6 separate regions of the Homo sapiens genome follow, and regions 1, 2, 3, 4 and 6 are each linked to region 5. Evidence: promoter capture Hi-C in 16 types of primary human blood cells and fetal thymus (Javierre and others, 2016). All regions are on one chromosome and are shown on one strand. Each heading gives the region's core, a stretch centred on a gene start or on the middle of the fragment in contact. The rest is flanking DNA. Distances are from core to core; before and after follow the strand shown. Region 1 overlaps LOC102723490 (a long non-coding RNA gene). Region 2 overlaps SERTM1 (serine rich and transmembrane domain containing 1). Region 3 overlaps DCLK1 (doublecortin like kinase 1). Region 4 has its middle 25 kb from the start of RFXAP. Region 5 holds the start of CCNA1 (cyclin A1). Region 6 overlaps SMAD9 (SMAD family member 9).

The links. Contacts are between HindIII fragments. The CHiCAGO score rates a contact against its expected background, and 5 or more counts as called.
Region 1: a contact is called between a fragment that was not itself captured here and the fragment with the promoter of CCNA1 in region 5, in 5 of 17 cell types (M0 macrophages, monocytes, M2 macrophages and 2 more). The highest score is 8.5, in M0 macrophages.
Region 2: a fragment that was not itself captured here is called in contact with the fragment with the promoter of CCNA1 in region 5 in 3 of 17 cell types (M0 macrophages, M2 macrophages and M1 macrophages); the score reaches 6.4 in M0 macrophages.
Region 3: a contact is called between a fragment that was not itself captured here and the fragment with the promoter of CCNA1 in region 5, in 4 of 17 cell types (M2 macrophages, M1 macrophages, M0 macrophages and 1 more). The highest score is 10.0, in M2 macrophages.
Region 4: a contact is called between a fragment that was not itself captured here and the fragment with the promoter of CCNA1 in region 5, in 1 of 17 cell types (M0 macrophages). The highest score is 5.4, in M0 macrophages.
Region 6: a fragment that was not itself captured here is called in contact with the fragment with the promoter of CCNA1 in region 5 in 2 of 17 cell types (naive B cells and M1 macrophages); the score reaches 5.5 in naive B cells.

The regions. Positions count from the first base shown.
Region 1 is chr13:36,712,213-36,714,912 of GRCh38, reverse strand. All of the region lies in intron 3 of LOC102723490 (a long non-coding RNA gene), which reads left to right. Among named protein-coding and RNA genes, the nearest start is that of SERTM1, 40 kb to the right of the region's middle. The HindIII fragment of the contact is 7,545 bases long and covers 1-2,700 here.
Region 2 is chr13:36,690,145-36,692,844 of GRCh38, reverse strand. The region is part of intron 1 of SERTM1 (serine rich and transmembrane domain containing 1); the gene reads right to left. The region is part of intron 6 of LOC102723490 (a long non-coding RNA gene); the gene reads left to right. Among named protein-coding and RNA genes, the nearest start is that of SERTM1, 17 kb to the right of the region's middle. The HindIII fragment of the contact is 1,588 bases long and covers 463-2,050 here.
Region 3 is chr13:35,976,908-35,979,607 of GRCh38, reverse strand. The region is part of intron 3 of DCLK1 (doublecortin like kinase 1); the gene reads left to right. Among named protein-coding and RNA genes, the nearest start is that of DCLK1, 150 kb to the left of the region's middle. The HindIII fragment of the contact is 2,372 bases long and covers 194-2,565 here.
Region 4 is chr13:36,793,190-36,795,889 of GRCh38, reverse strand. It overlaps the pseudogene ARL2BPP3. Among named protein-coding and RNA genes, the nearest start is that of RFXAP, 25 kb to the left of the region's middle. The HindIII fragment of the contact is 9,289 bases long and covers 1-2,700 here.
Region 5 is chr13:36,431,059-36,433,758 of GRCh38, reverse strand. CCNA1 (cyclin A1) reads right to left here and starts at 1,264. Exons shown (of 9, transcript NM_001413923.1): 1 at 1,030-1,264; 2 at 538-726. The coding sequence starts at 702. RefSeq lists silencers at 1,371-1,530, 1,561-1,610, 1,891-1,960. The HindIII fragment of the contact is 15,627 bases long and covers 1-2,700 here.
Region 6 is chr13:36,914,187-36,916,886 of GRCh38, reverse strand. The region is part of intron 1 of SMAD9 (SMAD family member 9); the gene reads left to right. Among named protein-coding and RNA genes, the nearest start is that of SMAD9, 4.7 kb to the left of the region's middle. The HindIII fragment of the contact is 1,499 bases long and covers 520-2,018 here.

The DNA of each region.
Region 1 (2,700 bases), core at 194-2,693, 280 kb before region 5:
TTTTTTTTTTTTTTTGAGACAGGGTCTCATTCTGTCACACAGGCTGGAGTGCAGAGGCATGATCTTGGCTCCCTACAGCCTCAACTTCCTAGGCTCAAGCTATCCTTCCATCTCCTCCTCTCAAGGTAGCTGGGACTACATGCACACACCTCCCTGCGTGTCTAATTTTTGTATTTTTCTGTAAGGACGTCTTGCAATGTTGCCCCCAGGCTGGTATCCAATTCCTGGCCTGAAGTGATCCCCCTGCCTTGGCCTTCCAAAATGCAGGGATTACAGGTGTGAGCCATCATGTCCAGCCTATGTACCGCTTAAGTACTGTTTTCTTAAAAGCCACAGAGTTCAATCCTCAGCCTTTTTTCTTTTGGATTTGTACATAATCCCAAAGGATCTCATTCGTGCCTTCAGCTTTGGCTCTCTTCTGACCTCCAGACCCATTTATCCAGCTGTCTAAAGCACATCTTCTCAGGAATAACTTAGATGTCAAAACCAGAATCTTTAAACTCATGCTGTCCAACAAAGCAAAGCCCCTTCTCACTTTCCTATTTGTTCTCACTGTACTTATCACATGGGCAACCTCCTTCTCTGGCTAGTGCAGCTCTTATCGCATTGCTCTGCAGCAAGTTACAAGCTGTGTGATCTTGGGGAATGTATCCCTCTGAACCTCTGTTTCTTTCTCTGGAAGAGAGAGATAATAATCCAAACCACATGGGATTTTCGTGGAGATTCAGTGAAATGTATATATCATCTCATATAGTGCCTGACACACAGCAGACATCCTGCACATGTTTGTTTCTTCTTCTTTTTCTTTTCTACTTCTCCTTCTGCCCCCAACCAGACTGTGAGTAACCTGAGGACAGAGTCTGTGCTTTCCTAATACTCAATGCTGAGTAATTGTTAGTGAATCACAGAACCTATAGAACTACAGGACCTATAATAGCAGACATTCCAGATATGTATTTAAAATTCTTTGAAGCTGCTAATCTTTCAGTTTCTGTATTCAGTCTCTAACGAGGTGCAAAGAAGTAAAAATTTAGGATAAACTCTATACTGTGATTACAATAAATATTCATTAAGCTATTTACAAAAAGTCCGTCTTCATACACATTAGGAACAGATCATGTATACACCCTGTATTAGCACATTCAGGGCACAATCTGAAACCTGCACTTCTAAAATTCACCAAAGTTCTCAGTCTGCATATTGTGTGAGCTAAAGGATTTCATGTTCTTGGTCTTTTACTTTTGCTTAATTTTAAAAATGTATAATGGATACAATAATTGTACATATTTACAGGATACAATGTGATATTTTGACGTGTGTATGCATAATATAATGATCAAATTGGGGTAATTACCATATCCGCCACTTTAAACATTTCTCATTTCTTCTAGCTATCTTAAAATATTCACTGCATTGTTATTTGCTATAGTGGTTAACAGAGGCTGGGGAGGGTGGAGGGAGGGAACCAGAAGAGTTTGGTCAATGGGTACAAAGTTACAGTTAAACAGGAAGAATAAGTTTTGGTGTCCTCATGTCTCTAATTTTAACAGAGTTTTATATTTTTATCAAATTTGCATTACACTGGATGCCAAGGTATAAGTTATTTTTGATAAAATACATCTTTATTCTGTGGGGGGAAACTGGAGCACCGAGGACTAATAACATGCTTCCTTCACTAGAAATTACTTGTAGTTTAGCATTCACTATGACAACGTGGCTGAGCATGGTTGAATTGTGATCTTGCCTTGAGAAAAAAGATTCTAGCTACTTGCAGTTTATAAGCAGGTACCTTCTGACTATGCAGAGATCTGTTCAATGTTTCTCTAATTTAATTGCCACGTAGTATGCGGTGGTTCATTGTGTTCAGTCTGCTTTGAGCAAAAAGGTCTAACTCATTTACAGGCTGCTGAGTCATAGGGGCTCCTTCAACAAGGAGAAAGTGGTTCCAGAAGAGAATTAGTAACAGCTGGGGGCTGCACAGTCCACAGTAAGGGCATGGGGTGGAGAGCACAGTACTCCCACTCCTGCCTCACAAGAAGCTGAAAGGAACGGGTCCAAAGCCTGGGGCAGCCAGAGATCGGGACCTGCAAACACTGAAAGAGGCTGTGCTGAGCTTTACGCAGTACATGACTTGGAAAAAACATTTAAACTAAGATTTTTTTTTTCTGTTTTCATTTGTTTTATGGGACATTGTGTAGCTTATAGACAAACATTTAAAAGTGAAAATTCTTTTGTTAATTTAAATGGATTCCTTATGGAAACACTGATGCACATGAGGAAATTTTACTTCTATTTTTCTTAGGTTATCACTCATTCATGTGTGGACTTTTTATTGAGGGGGTTTCATGTGCTTCACACTGGGCTGCGAGATAGCCTGCAGCCTTGCTTGCAGGAGCTCAGAGTACCATGCGGGAGGGGAGACAGATGAATCACTCCAGGGGTGAGTGCTGCATTTTCCATTAACAGCAGGTGATAGGAAACCTGTAGGAGATACCCTGCCTGGAAATATCACAGATGATTCCCTGGAGAAATTGATGTCTCAGTGAAAAGCACGGATGTGTATGATCTAGCCAGGCATTAGGGATGAGGGAGGAATTGGTGTCCCAGACAAAGACAGCAGTGTATATAAAGATGGGTGTGGGTGTGTTGAAGGAAGTTAGGAGAGTGGTAAGATATGAAGTATTGAGGGGTGGTGCCCCA
Region 2 (2,700 bases), core at 7-2,506, 260 kb before region 5:
GACTAGAATCCATGCCTGAACTGTGTTCTTGGTTTTCTCAACTGTGGTAAGAAAAGAAAAATTATGCTTTGGATAATTAGTTCCTATCTGCCACTTACTTTGGGCAAGCCCACAGTTTAGTCCCGATCTTTTATTTTTCTCATTTGCACAACAGTGATGCCTACCTTTCCTACTTCTCCAGAAGGTCTTGAGTTAAGATGTGATAACATTTTCCATAATCATACTTAGAAAATCATAAAAGGCCATCCCAAGTAAAGTGCCAGTAGATAGAAAGTTCCTTCTAGAAAGTCTAGAGGAACTTTCAAGGTCTCTCTTAGTCCTACAGTTTCGACAGGTGTAGCTGAAGTTGGCTGATTTTTCTAAAGCTACCTTCTCTGCTACCCAAGTCTGTATCATTTTCAGGGATGGTGCTGGAGGCACAGGCAATGTCACTCTGGTATCAGCAATTCAGTTGGTAAAGCTTACAGCTGGCTACCAGACCTCTTGTTAATATCATTTTACAGGGTAAATATTCTAAGAGTAGGTTTTTACTTCCAGAAGATTGCCTTCTTTCAGACCAAAACCCCACCATGAGCCTCAACTGTTGACAGGAGAGTTTATAGGAAATGAGGCTCAGAAGGTTTGGTCAAAGCATCTGATCTTTTAAGTGGCCTTGGAAGAATAGGAGAAAACAAGGAAATGAAACCTTGTGTCCTTATTTGACATTTCACAACTAAATATCTTCTTCCTTAAGTATTCCCCCCAAATATTATTGATTTAATACCATTTCCGGGGTACTTCTTAATTTAAAATCACAGCTACACAAATTTCATTTCATACTCTGAAACAACAGAGTATGTGCACTGCTAGAAAGAATTTTAATTTGGATGTTAATTCTCGTTTCCTTATTGAAGTTTTAAAAACTGGAATATCTTCTTTCTCTTTGGTTTTATTTAACAGTAGCTGTATAATGCTCAGGGTGACCCAGCCTGTATGTGTTTAGGCATTGTGACAGTGTGGAAACAGGCTGGAGGTTGCACTGCGGAAATGAAATCAAATGAGTGTGTTTCAAGATGATGCTTCTTGGGCTGTTGCTCCCAAACAGATAAGGTTTGAGGAAAAGAAGAAAGAGACTTCATCTTAAATGCATAGCCTTGACCTGTCTCGGGGCAGCGCCAGCAGACTCTCATTTCAGGTGACACCTAAAGCCACATGGGGATTTTGATGCTTTTTTTCCGCTCAGAATCACTGTCCTCAGAAGGTGATTTTTGAGAAAGGAAAATGAGACAGTTGGATCACAACATTATAAAGGAAGACCTGTGGAAATGTTTTAGCTCATGGTCAACCAGCTTTCCCTTTGTCTCTTGTAATAAAAGCCTGGGCTGGGAAGAAATCTACAAAAAAGCAGTCCCCTAGTGAAGTGAGGAAGGAGGGATGTGCAGTCTCTCACCATGTGCCCAGTGGGGTGGGGAAACAGAGAGACAACGTAAGACAGCGCACACCTGGGGTCTCTGGTTCCCAGTCATTTAGCACCACAGCCCTGGGACCCCTTTTAAAGAACTTCCTTCCCACGGAAGGATTATGAGGACTATAATGTTTGGGAAGAAGAAAAACATACTCTCTAGCACGTACCTTCATTCTCCATAAATGAAGAAGAGTTGACCAGCTCTCATCTCTGAGTGCTCTCACATAAGCATTGCAGGACCCATGGCAGTCAGCGCATGGGCCCAGCCTGCGCCACATCCTTGACTTCTATGACACAATAGTTTGTAAAACTCAGGCTACCAGTCAGCCTCAAATATGGCACAGCAATTTTAAATTTCATGACCTTTATTCAAATACATTTCTATGTGAATAACGACTATTTGAAAGGTTTTTGTTGTTGTTGTGGAAAACTGGGACAAGCTGCTTTGTTCCCTTGCGGACTTTATATTTAAAGAGTGGCCTGGCTGTTAGATGCCATATCAATGTTCCATCATTATCAGGTTCTGCTGTCATACTCCAAAAGGTGATCCTCTCAAAACCATGAGGAAAGTGGCCACAAAGTATTAACACAACATAATAAAAAGCTTTTTCCAGTACACAAAAGGAAGATTTGATAGTTGAATGGAATTAATGGTTTTAGATGATGTATTAGATCTTTTCCTCTGTAGAACACCTAAAAATGAATATTTCCAGAATCCAGAAGGGAACTTATCATATCTGAGCAAAGCTGTTTTTCATTCTATTTAGAAAATGCATGTTTTATATAAGACCTTGCAGCCATTCCTTTACCCTTTGCATGATTATCTTCTCTTTTAATGCTTTCTCTCTCCTTAGTGGCCTTTTAGGTCATGCTAGCTGAGAGAAGATTACTGCTGACAATACACACTTCCCACCACCCTTCTCTAAATGTAAATCTTCACTTGCATTCAAAGGCAAACATTTACCCCTGGGCCTTGCAGTAATAGAAATAAAGTTTACTATCTTACGTGCTACCCTTACTCAAAGCTGACTCAGCCATCCATAGAGTTGCCTATTTGAGAACCGCCTTTACTTATCAGTACAATGCTTTGGGAGAGTAGAGTTTTGTGTGAACTCTCATTATGAGTCCTTCAATTGGCATGATAAAAACCAAAGCCACGTTAAGGAAATAAACTGCATCTATCTGCTATCGCACATTGAGAACATTGAATTAGAGGGCCATGTTATGCGAAGAAAGGTGGGGAGATGGAGATTCTG
Region 3 (2,700 bases), core at 130-2,629, 450 kb after region 5:
TAAAAAAGAAAATTCAGTTCCTTCCCTTTTAGCCAAAAATGCTATGAGTCAGTACTTTGGCACTGGGAGTGGAAAGCAGTGAGAAACGAGTGGGCCTTTGGGATCTGACGGGAAAGGATAGCTCTGGGACAATATTGTTTATGGATTGGCTGTCATGCATTTGCCAAGCAATGGCAGTGGCTGTTTAGAAGCTTTCTGCGCCTCACCCCATTCACATGTCCTCTTTCTGGCTGTCTCAGTTCTGAACCCCATGCAGAGATCAGCTGACATCCCTTGTCTTCCATGAAACCTCATTGATTAGTCCTTCCCCGGCCGGGTCTTCTGAATCCCGGGCTGTATTCTTTTACTTTTAATAGTCATTGGAAAGTCGCTTGGCACTTCGTTGACAGCCCTTGGGCTACTGCCTTTTTGTGGGTAAGGGTTGTCTTCCAGGTGGAGAATATTTCTCCAGACCAAAAACATAGCTTCTGTTTTGTGGCCTCATGGCTTAGCAGAGATCTGTATGTGAGATTGGGTACTGGGAACAGCTTGGCAAGTTATTAACCTCTGCAGAGCTCAGGTTTCTCATTTTAAAAATAAAGACAACTACCATTAAAGGAAGATCGTGTTTTCAGGATTAGATAAGACAATATAGGTAGAGCACTTAGCACTGTGGCTGGTGCTCAATAATTGGTGGTTATTACTCTTACTAGTAAGGTAATAGGTGTGTATTCTGTTTGGGAGTTAACCTGAGTTTACTACCCTTTTAGAAGATAGTTCCATCATTCCGATAATTCATGCCGTTGTCATTTTGTAATATCTTTGTGTGAAATGGGGCCTTACAGAAAAAAAGGTGTGGAAATCTAACGTAATCTCTTGTCAGGGTAAGTGTAAATTTGAGTTTCCTGGAGGTCTAGTGACACCAAGTGGCGAATTGTGATATTACATGTTGGTTGTTTGAGAGTGTTCAAATTCTATTTCATTGGTAAAATAGCAAATTATTCTGCTGTGTATGATTTCTGAGTTTTCCTCTCTTAATTGTAATCTAGTATTGAGTGAGAATGGAAAGAATATTATAAGAGTACTACATTGTAGACTTATTGAATGAAAAACTGGAATTCTAGACCGGGCACGGTGGCTCACGCCGGTAATCCCAGCACTTTGGGAGGCCAAGGTGGGTGGATCACTTGAGCCCAGGAATTTGAGACCAGCCTGGGCAACATGGTGAAACTCCATCTCTACTAAAAATACAAAAATTAGCCGGGCGTGATGTCGCGTGCCTGTAATTCCAGCTACTTGGGAGGCTGAGGCAGGAGAATAGCTTAAACCCAAGAGGCAGAGGTTGCAATGAGCCGAGATCGTACTACTGCACTCCAGCTGGGTGACAGAGTGAGACTCCGTCAAAAAAAAAAAAAAAAAAAAAAAGAAAAGAAAAGAAAAAAAAAACTGGAACTCTAAATTGCACAAAGCAGAAAATCGATTCTTAATGTGCAAGTGTTTTCTTCATGTATTATTTATATCCTGTCAACACAGTGACATATTTGAAATTGACACCAATTTGTAATGGATCGTTAGTAATACTTCCTTAATATTTCTTTCAGGGACAATGACATTCTGCTTATTATCTACCCAGTCTGTAAAGAAAGCTGACATTTGAATACTCACAGAGCTCTTGTTGACAATGTAATTGTGCCCACTGTGTAGAGAACGTTAGTCCTATTAACTTATGATGGCTTCCGAACCTTGACTTTCTTCATGGGGAAAGAAATGAGCAACTTTCCATTATTTGCTATGCCACCGAGACAACATCTGGGCCTGGAGTTAGTGCTTGAACATGGAGCTGTTCTTGGGTGTATGACACCATTCTTAGGTACTGAAGAGCAGACCAGAGTTGATGAGCTGGGATTTTCTAAACCTAATCATTTGTTCTCAGCCTTCTTCATGTCACTGCCAACATTCATCTCTGGCTGTGATCTGGTCTTGTAGGTAATTTCCTCATTCATTATTCAAGGTATTGTGTGGAATTAAAAAAAAAATAGCCCATTAGACCCATCAGAATACACCTGATGACCAGTATTAAATGTGTGCATTTCTGTACTTTAATTAGCAAATACCTAATATTGGGGCAATGGAGAACCATGTGCTTAAGTCAAAAGGGCTTCGTGATAGTCATTCACCAAAATATACCTCCTCAGAAAGAGTCCTTGGACTCACCAATCCTTTGCTTGCCCTCAGGCCACTTATTTGGGGTGAGCTGGGAGTGGCTGACATACCCTTCCCTCCTGCCCACCCCAAGGAAGGAGCGCAGAAATGCAGACAGCAGATTGCTCAGGGGGAAAACTTGCCCAATCTGCCCAGACACTCTGAGTTGGGAACATAATCAGCTGGCATTTATGAGGCTCATAGTTCTGTATTCAGCTTCCTGATATGCATGAAGTAACTTATATATTTGGAACAGTTGATAAAATTTGAATTTATCTTTCTCTCTCTGTATATATATACACACACACATACACGAAAAATACAGCATTTTATTTTTGTCATTTCTTAACATCTGGAGTGGATGCAAGTTTCACAAATGAAGCTTTTTGAATTATTTCTGATTTAATTCCTTAAATAATATAATCCAGATTCCACTAAGGCTTAAGCTCTCTATATCCTTCCTGAGGCTTTGTTAATTCTTTGAGGACACTGTGCTGATGATTGTTAATGCCGTGGTCT
Region 4 (2,700 bases), core at 121-2,620, 360 kb before region 5:
GATGGACAGCTGGCTGGAGTAACACCCCAGATAAATATAAAAAACCTCACTGGGGCTGAAGAACTGAAACTCTAACCCATGTCAAAAATGAGATGCAAGTGCACAAAAAATTTATGCAAACCCTGCTGGGATAAAGAGGGTTCATGATGGTGGGTTTTGATACGCAAACGTGAATGCTGGGGTGAGGAAAGGCCCCCCACAGAGTGGAATGCTTGACATGGGCTTGCTCACAAGCTGCCTGAGTCAGAAGCACCTGAGAGAGGTACCTACTTGGGGAGGGGAGGAGTATTAGGGTTAATGAATACAAGAAGGTGATTCGGCCGGGGGAGGGGTGGGTGTGTTGGCTCACACCTGTAATCCTAGCACTTTGGGAGGCTGAGGCAGGCGGATCACTTGAGGTCACGAGTTCAAAACCAGCCTGGCCAACATGGTGAAGCCCCGTCTCTACTAAAAATACAAAAAAATTAGCTGGGCGTGGTGGTGGGTGCCTGTAATTCTAGCTACTTGGGAGGCTGAGACAGGAGAATCATTTGAACCAGGCAGGTGGAAGCTGCAGTGAGCCGAGATTGGGCCACTGCAGTACAGCCTGGGCGACAGAGCGAGACCCTGTCTCAAAACAAAAACAAAAACAAAAACCCAACAAGATGTTTCAGGATAAATAGGTCCAGGAGGATTAGATCATTTTGGCTTTTACCCCATCAATATTTAATGCGAATGAAGAGTTGCAGAACAGAATCAGTTTTTCCAGGATACGTTCTCCTGTCATCATGAGCCGAGCCTATTGAACTACTGAGCCCGTGAAATTGAGAATGATACCATTCATTGTCTGGAGGTAGGTCCTACTGCTGCAGATTGTTCTGAGAAGCTGTCATAGAAGATGATTTGCACAATGAAGTCTCCACTAAACCACGGCTTAAGTCCAGTCTCTGGCCTTCTTTTTCTGCTCTGCAGTCCAGAAACATTTCTTTAAAAGCCAGAAAATCTGTAAATTTGAGCAGCATTTGGAGTATGTCACCAACCACTTCATCTTTGTGGTGCTGTAACGTTGTGAAAGTTGCCATGGTAAAGCCAAGAATTTGCTCCAGCAACTGTTCTTCTATATACTTTCCTGCCAAAGAAATATATTCATTAAAAATAGGTGTGTTCTTCTATATACTTTCTTCTATATACTGTTCTTCTATATACTTTCCTGCCAAAGAAATATATTCATTAAAAATAGGTGTGTAGGTGAGTTTATTCTCTTTGGTGTCCTCAAACTCCTGGTAGTAGTTGTTGATGAAATTTCTCTGTAATAACTGGAAATCTTCATCCATGATAATGTCCTCTAAATATCCAACCGCAGCATCAAAATGTGCATCAGAGTCAGAGGAGAAGGGCACAATGAAGCCTTCTTCTAAAGCACCCATGGTTGGTGCCACCGCACCCACCCAAGTGAGCTGACCCATTGGGTCCCTACGGTTTCTAGGGCACAGAGGTCAGCTGGGGGAAGCCTTGTCGCCCAGGCTGCAGCCCACTCCTAAATTTTTAAAGGTATAGCAATAACATTGTGGTTATGCAAGAGAATATCCTTATATTTAGGAGATTCATGATTAAGAACTCAGAGGTGAAATAGCATGGTCACTGTATTTTACTTTGAAATGTTTTAGTCAAATATACAAACATATAGGAAGCAATTACAGCAAAATACTTGCAATTGCTGAATGTAGGTGGCAGGCATATGGGTGTTCCTTGCTCTAATCCAAGAGTGTCCAATCTTTTGGCTTCCCTGGGCCACACTGGAAGAAGAACTGTCTCGGGCCACATGTAAAATACACTAACACTAACTATAGCAGATGAGTTAAAAAGAGAATCACAAAAAAACTCATAATACTTTAAGAAAGTTTATGAATTTGGGTTGGGCTTCATTCAAAGCTGTCCTGGTCCACATGTGACCCATGGGCTGTGAGTTGGACAAGCATGTCCTAGTCTTTCAACTTTTCTGTATATTTAAAAATAAATATATTAATATACAAAATATAAATTAAAAATTATAATTTGAATAAGGAAGACCTTTTCAAATATGCTTGAAGGCTATATCTCATCAATTTGCAGTATTTCCAATTATATATATATTTTTATTGATCATGTCAAAGATCCATAAAGGTCCATAATGTGAGCCAAACCTTTTAAAAATATTTGCTTGGTGAACCATCTTATTTGGACATGACATTCAAACACTTAAATGACATTTGAAAGATTATGAATAATCTGTCAGTGAAGGGATTATTTTTAAACATTCATTGATGATTATCTTGTTCTCTGAGACTTGGTAATTAGGTTGTTGATGAATAATAAAATGACTTGTTAAAACACCCGGTACCTCTTTTTAAAGTTGGCTCTAAACTTACATTATTGGTGCTCCATCTGTTAAATAAGCAATGATGTTGGAAAAGGAAATTTTTTTCTCTTTAATTAATTTTAGGGTTTCAAATATTGACAAATTTTTTGTATTCATTGTTAGCAATTTTGAAAATAATCTTTTCTACATAATTTTTCTGTCCTTGAACACTTTATAGATGCAAATATTAAAGTCTTATGATTATTCAGGTTACTTTTGCCCACTCATAATCAAAGTTATTTGCACTATGCAATTGATTTCAATATCTTTTACCGTCTTCTTAAAGCAGTATTAAATGGGATAGAGAAATTATTTGGTTTGGA
Region 5 (2,700 bases), core at 15-2,514:
GACCAGCCTGGCCAACATGGTGAAATCCCATCTCTACTAAAAACACAAAAATTAGCCGGGCGTGGTGGTGGGTGCCTGAAATCCCAGCTACTCGGGAGGCTGAGGCAGGAGAATCGCTTGAACCCGGGAGGTGGAGGTTGCAGTGAGCCGAGATCGCGTCACTGCACTCCAGCCTGGCGACAAGAGCGAAACTCCGTCTCAAAAAAAAAAAAAGAAGGAAAGGAAAGGAAAGAAAAAAAAAGGAAAGGAAGAAGGAAGAGAAACAAAGAAAAAGAAAGAAGGAAAGAAAGAGAAAGAAAAGAAAGAAAGAAAGAACGAAAGAAAGAAAGAAAGAAAGAAAGAAAGAAAGAAAGAAAGAAAGAAAGAAAGAAAGAAAGAAAGAAAGAAAATAAATCAATCAACTTTCCTGTAGTCCAGATTCCAGGGTTGTAATACTCAGGGGGAGTTGTAGGTACAAGGGCAAGAGAAAAGCACCTGGCACCAAAGCAGGAGAGCTGTTCTCCACAAGCATCATTCTCAATGCGTCTGAGTCATTACCTGGCCACAGGTCCTCCTGTACTGCCCATTTGCAGTTAGCAGCCCTAGCACTGTCCTCTGCGGGGGATCCTGGCCCAGCGGGGCTCTGGTGAGTATCTGACAAGCATCGGGACCTCGGGCCACTGTAGCCAGCACAACTCCACTCTTGGGGTTGCTGCAGTGCATTGCTTCAGACTCCACGGGCTGCTGCTACCAGGGAAAGAGAAACAGACAAGCTGTTTAGTCGATTCCGTCCACCCCGGGCTCCAAGGACACAGCGAACCTCTAGGAGGGAGAGCACCAAGCAATGGGACTAACACCAATTGCTGATCTTCCCAGTAATTATTGGGGCTGAAAGGGCAGGTGCGACCGCACAGGCGATCAAAGTTGCTCTGAATCAAAACAGTTATTTGAATCCCTGAGGGAGGCTTTTTATCCCAAGACTTCGTGTTGGGCTGGAAGGAGAGAAACATTCTGACAAGCCTCCAAGTCGGGATACTAAACCCACGTTACCTGGAAGACGAAATCTGGGAGCCCCGGTCCTTCCCAGCTGAGATACTCTTCTCCCCAGCCCCCAATAAAAGATCCAGGGTACATGATTGCGGGAAAGCCGGTCTCCATCCCAAGTGACGAGCAGGGTGCTGCGCTGCGGCCTCCTCCCACCAGACAGGAGGCCCCAAAACCTGCCTGGACCCCAAAGCGGGCCCCGCTCTTCCCGTCGTTATCTTTCTATGTGTCCGGAACAACTGGCAAGTGCACTGGAGGATCGCGGTTAAGAGGTGGCCGGCTGGGCGGGGCAGGGCGGGGCAGGGTTGGGCAGGGCCGGGCCGGGCCGGGCGGGGCAGGGCGGGGAAGGGCAGGGAAGGGCAGGGCACGGAAGGGCGGGGCGGGAAGGACCAAGTGTCGAGGGATTCCAGCCTGGGAGGCGGCCGGGCTTAGCGATGCGGCTGAGCTGCCCACCCGCGTCTGTTGAATCGGCCAATCAGCGGCGCCCCCGGACCTAGCGGGAGCGTTTCCATGCCGACCGCGGCAGGCGTGCGCTCTCCGGGGCCGCATCGCCATGGCGACCTGCTCACCTGACTCGCTCCGGGTGGACTCGCCGCGACCCCTGGGCGTTCAGGCCCCTGAGGGCCCAACGGGCGACGGCCCTCCAGCTCCAGCTGTGCGTCTCCGCCCGGGCGAGGTGGGGCTGACCGCGGCCGTCTGCACACGTCCCCTCTGGTCCGCGCCCCCGGCCTGGGAGGGCGGACTCGCCCACCCCACGATGGCCCCGGCTTTGGAAGGGACTGTTTCCGTGACCCGTTCTCCCAACAGCCGCTAACAACCCCCTCTAACGTCTCCTGCGCGGCCCGCTCCTGAGAACCCTGGCTCGGGAGAGCGACGCGGGGTCCTCGGGGCTGCGCAGGCTGCGGCGCCCTGCCCACGCTGGCCCGAGGGCGCGGCTCGCTCCGGGTCGGCTCACACACCTACGCTTCCTGCCGGGAGGCGGCTGGGACGCGGCGGGGCTGCCCCAAGTGCAGTCGCGGCAGTGTTGCGTCTCCATCGCGGGGGTCCTTGCGGGCCGCGCCTGCCCCGCCCGGCTCCCGGTGCATGTGGCCTGCGAGGCGGCAGAGGAGATGTGGGGATTTAGGGTCGCACGTCGTGCTCGAGGTCCCCACGAGAGGTCTTCCCCCGCGGGCTCCTGCGCAACTGCGTGAAGCCGGCCCGGGAAAGCCAAGATTGTGGCCCAGGAAGAGGAAGGAACGCGGGCGACAGAGCTGGGGCTTGGGACGTTGAGGGGGTCGGTGGCAGCTCTCCGGGCTGGGGGCCGGGCGGGCGGCCCGGCCGCGTGGGGAGAGGAGTCCCTGGGGTCCTTATACGGGGGGCTCCTGGAAACCCGGGGGCTCAGACGCCTGCATAGGTGACTGACAAGCCAGGTGAAATAATCGAACTTTATTTTTTTAAAAATAATATGTATATATGCACACACACATTACCAATGCTATAGTCTGTTACTACTTTTGCTTTTTTTAAAACATCCATCCCTAAATCTCTAAATCAGATCCAAAGTCTATTCAAATGGCCACTTTATGCAAGCAACGGTTATCACCGTTTTTCTAAGTGTGCGTTATTAACATTTTCACCAAGCAAACTGAGTGTGGACATTGCTTTAATGGGAAGATAGTAGTATTCTAACAAAAGCGC
Region 6 (2,700 bases), core at 20-2,519, 480 kb before region 5:
TCCCAGCTTCCCCACCTCCCACAGGATCCTCAAATATGACTTCTTCATCTTGTATGCCCTGTTCAGGCGCTGCCTTCACGGGACTTTCTGTGATGACCCTGGTCCCAGGTATGTCCTCCTTCGAGCTCCTGTGGCTCTTCGCCTTTTCAACTCTTACCTGTTTTGTATTAAGTTACTCATAGACTAATTTATTTCTTCCCCTCAGACCATCCTTACAAGATCCAGGAAGGAAGGGACTGTTTCATCTACCTTTTTTATTCTCTGAATGCTGACCACAGTGCCCTTTATAGTACTCTATCAATAAATAACAAATACATGACACATTTTTTCACTGAACCCATGGTCCCTCCTGAAATAAAGTCTGTAAAAGCATTTCACCCATAGGATAAAGTCCATCTTTCAAGAAGCTGGTGTTGAATCTGAGCTGAGGACTAGTTCAGAGGCCTGAAATCCCCTCAGCCCAGTTGAGAGCCTCCTTCTCCTGAACATTGTGGCTGAGCATTACAGTCAGGAAAAGCTTCTATGATACTCTTATTGCATTAGCAGTTTTCCATATCAGATTCACTAAATACACAATGGAAGCCATTTAGTAGAAAAACAGATTTTAATGTGATACGGCTACCACAATGAAACACTAATGTGATTCCACAGAAAATTGCTAACACGATATGCTGATTCCTCCCCCCACCATAGCCGCATAAAAATTGATACTGTTTTTAATGTATGTGTTTCAAACTATGCTCACAAAAGAAAAGCAGACTGCTACTGAGATGAGCTGCTGCTTTGTTCACGTTGGATGTGTAAAGGGTCTTGTTATCAGCCTCGTCAGGCAGAATCTGCCTTCTGTGCCTTGGTCATTCTATTATCGAACAATACTAACTCTCATTTTAAAATATATCATGTTCTGTGTAACAATCCAGTATTAAAGTTAATATGATGTGAAAAAATAGAATTTGCTTATAAATGTCATGCCCATATAATATATTCAGTTGTACCGTTTTAATTGGGAAGCTCTAATCAGCTCAAAACGCATTTTTCAAGAATCAAAACGACTCCCAATATAAAATTTAAATTCAGAATTTAAAATAAAAGGCATAAATATTAAGGTGGATTGTATATGTGTGTGCACACGGTTGTAACACTTTAGAAGTCATAAGCACTGAAGAGATTATGGTTCTTCCCCCTCATTCCCAGCCCACATTTAATTCAAAGAAAAAAGTTTAACCCAAAGAATAATTGTAAAGGAGACCTATGTAGTTCTGATTTTTTCCTATAATGACAATTTCCAATTCCTCTTTTTTAGATATTAAATATCAAAATCTTCTCTCTCTCTCTCTCTCTTTGTCTCATTCTTTGGTACTCTGATTAGCTGATTCACTGGTGGGGATTATTTTTATGTGAATTTCCCCTTGGGGAAATTTAATACTTAATATCTGATCACTTCCTTTTCTTTTTCATATTTAATTCTGAGGGACTATAAATAGAAAACATGTACTCCTCAGTCCCGAGGAGAGTTTGGTGCTGCAGTTGCGAAAAGCAATCTTCAGTTTACAAGCACTAGGAGTGCCAGGGATGCCCATTCATTCTAGGACTCCAGTTGCCAGTTTTCTATCACTGAACAAAGGAATCTGGATAGCATACATGTGGTCTTGCGGCCATTCAAACGTGTTGGTGACATTGGGGATTCTGAGTTGAGGATTCTGACGACTTAGAGTTTGCAAGTAGTAGAAGTGTGAACACTGTGAGGTAGCCACATCCTGAACTCACTGACCCCAGGAGCACATCCCTAGATACACTGGGCCATTTGCCTTAAATGACTGCTTTAATCTATGGAATATCTTCTTCCATACAGCCTGTTTTTTACTTTTCATCTGTTAAAGTGCTTAGAAGCCTATCAAATACAGATTTACTTTGGTTACTGTGTATTTTGATTTGTTTTCACAAAACGCAATAATTGTGCAATGGTTAATGTCATTCTAAAGGATTTTGTCCTACGTACTTGTGGGCTATGGAAAGCTTACAGCAGATTTGCAGGTCTTTTTTAAGAAGCATTTGATGGATGGTAGCGTTCAACTGAAGTGCCAGGAGTTGCTTTCTGAATTCTTGTATCTAAATTTAACTGACTTGGTAGTACCACATTTCAGGAGTTAATGGTAACGCAGAAAGGGATTCACAGATTCCATCAGTTTCCCACTTTGTGGCAGAATATTTGACATCTCTTATCAGTACACTTCATCATAAGTTCATGAATTCATCTTGCTCCTTTCTTTGCTGAGAATCACAGTGAGAGAATTGGAGTTTGGCTGAGAGGAGGAGTGAGGAAGGAAGAAGGAAGAGTAAGTTTTTTTTTGTTTTGTTTTTGTTTTTTGAGATGGAGTCTCTCTCTGTCGCCCAGGCTGGAGTGCAGTGGCACCATCTCGGCTCACTGCAAGCTCCACCTCCCGGGTTCATGCCATTCTCCCGCTTCAGCCTCCCAAGTAGCTGGGACTACAGGCACCTGCCACCACGCCCGGCTAATTTTTTGTATTTTTAGTAGAGACAGGGTTTCACCATGTTAGCCAGGATGGTCTCGATCTCCTGACCTCATGATCCGCCGGCCTCGGCCTCCCAAAGTGCTGGGTTTACAGGCGTGATCCACCGCGCCTGGCCCGAGAGTAAGTCATTTTAAGGCTTGGGCAGTAGCACTGTTGAGAAGTTTGA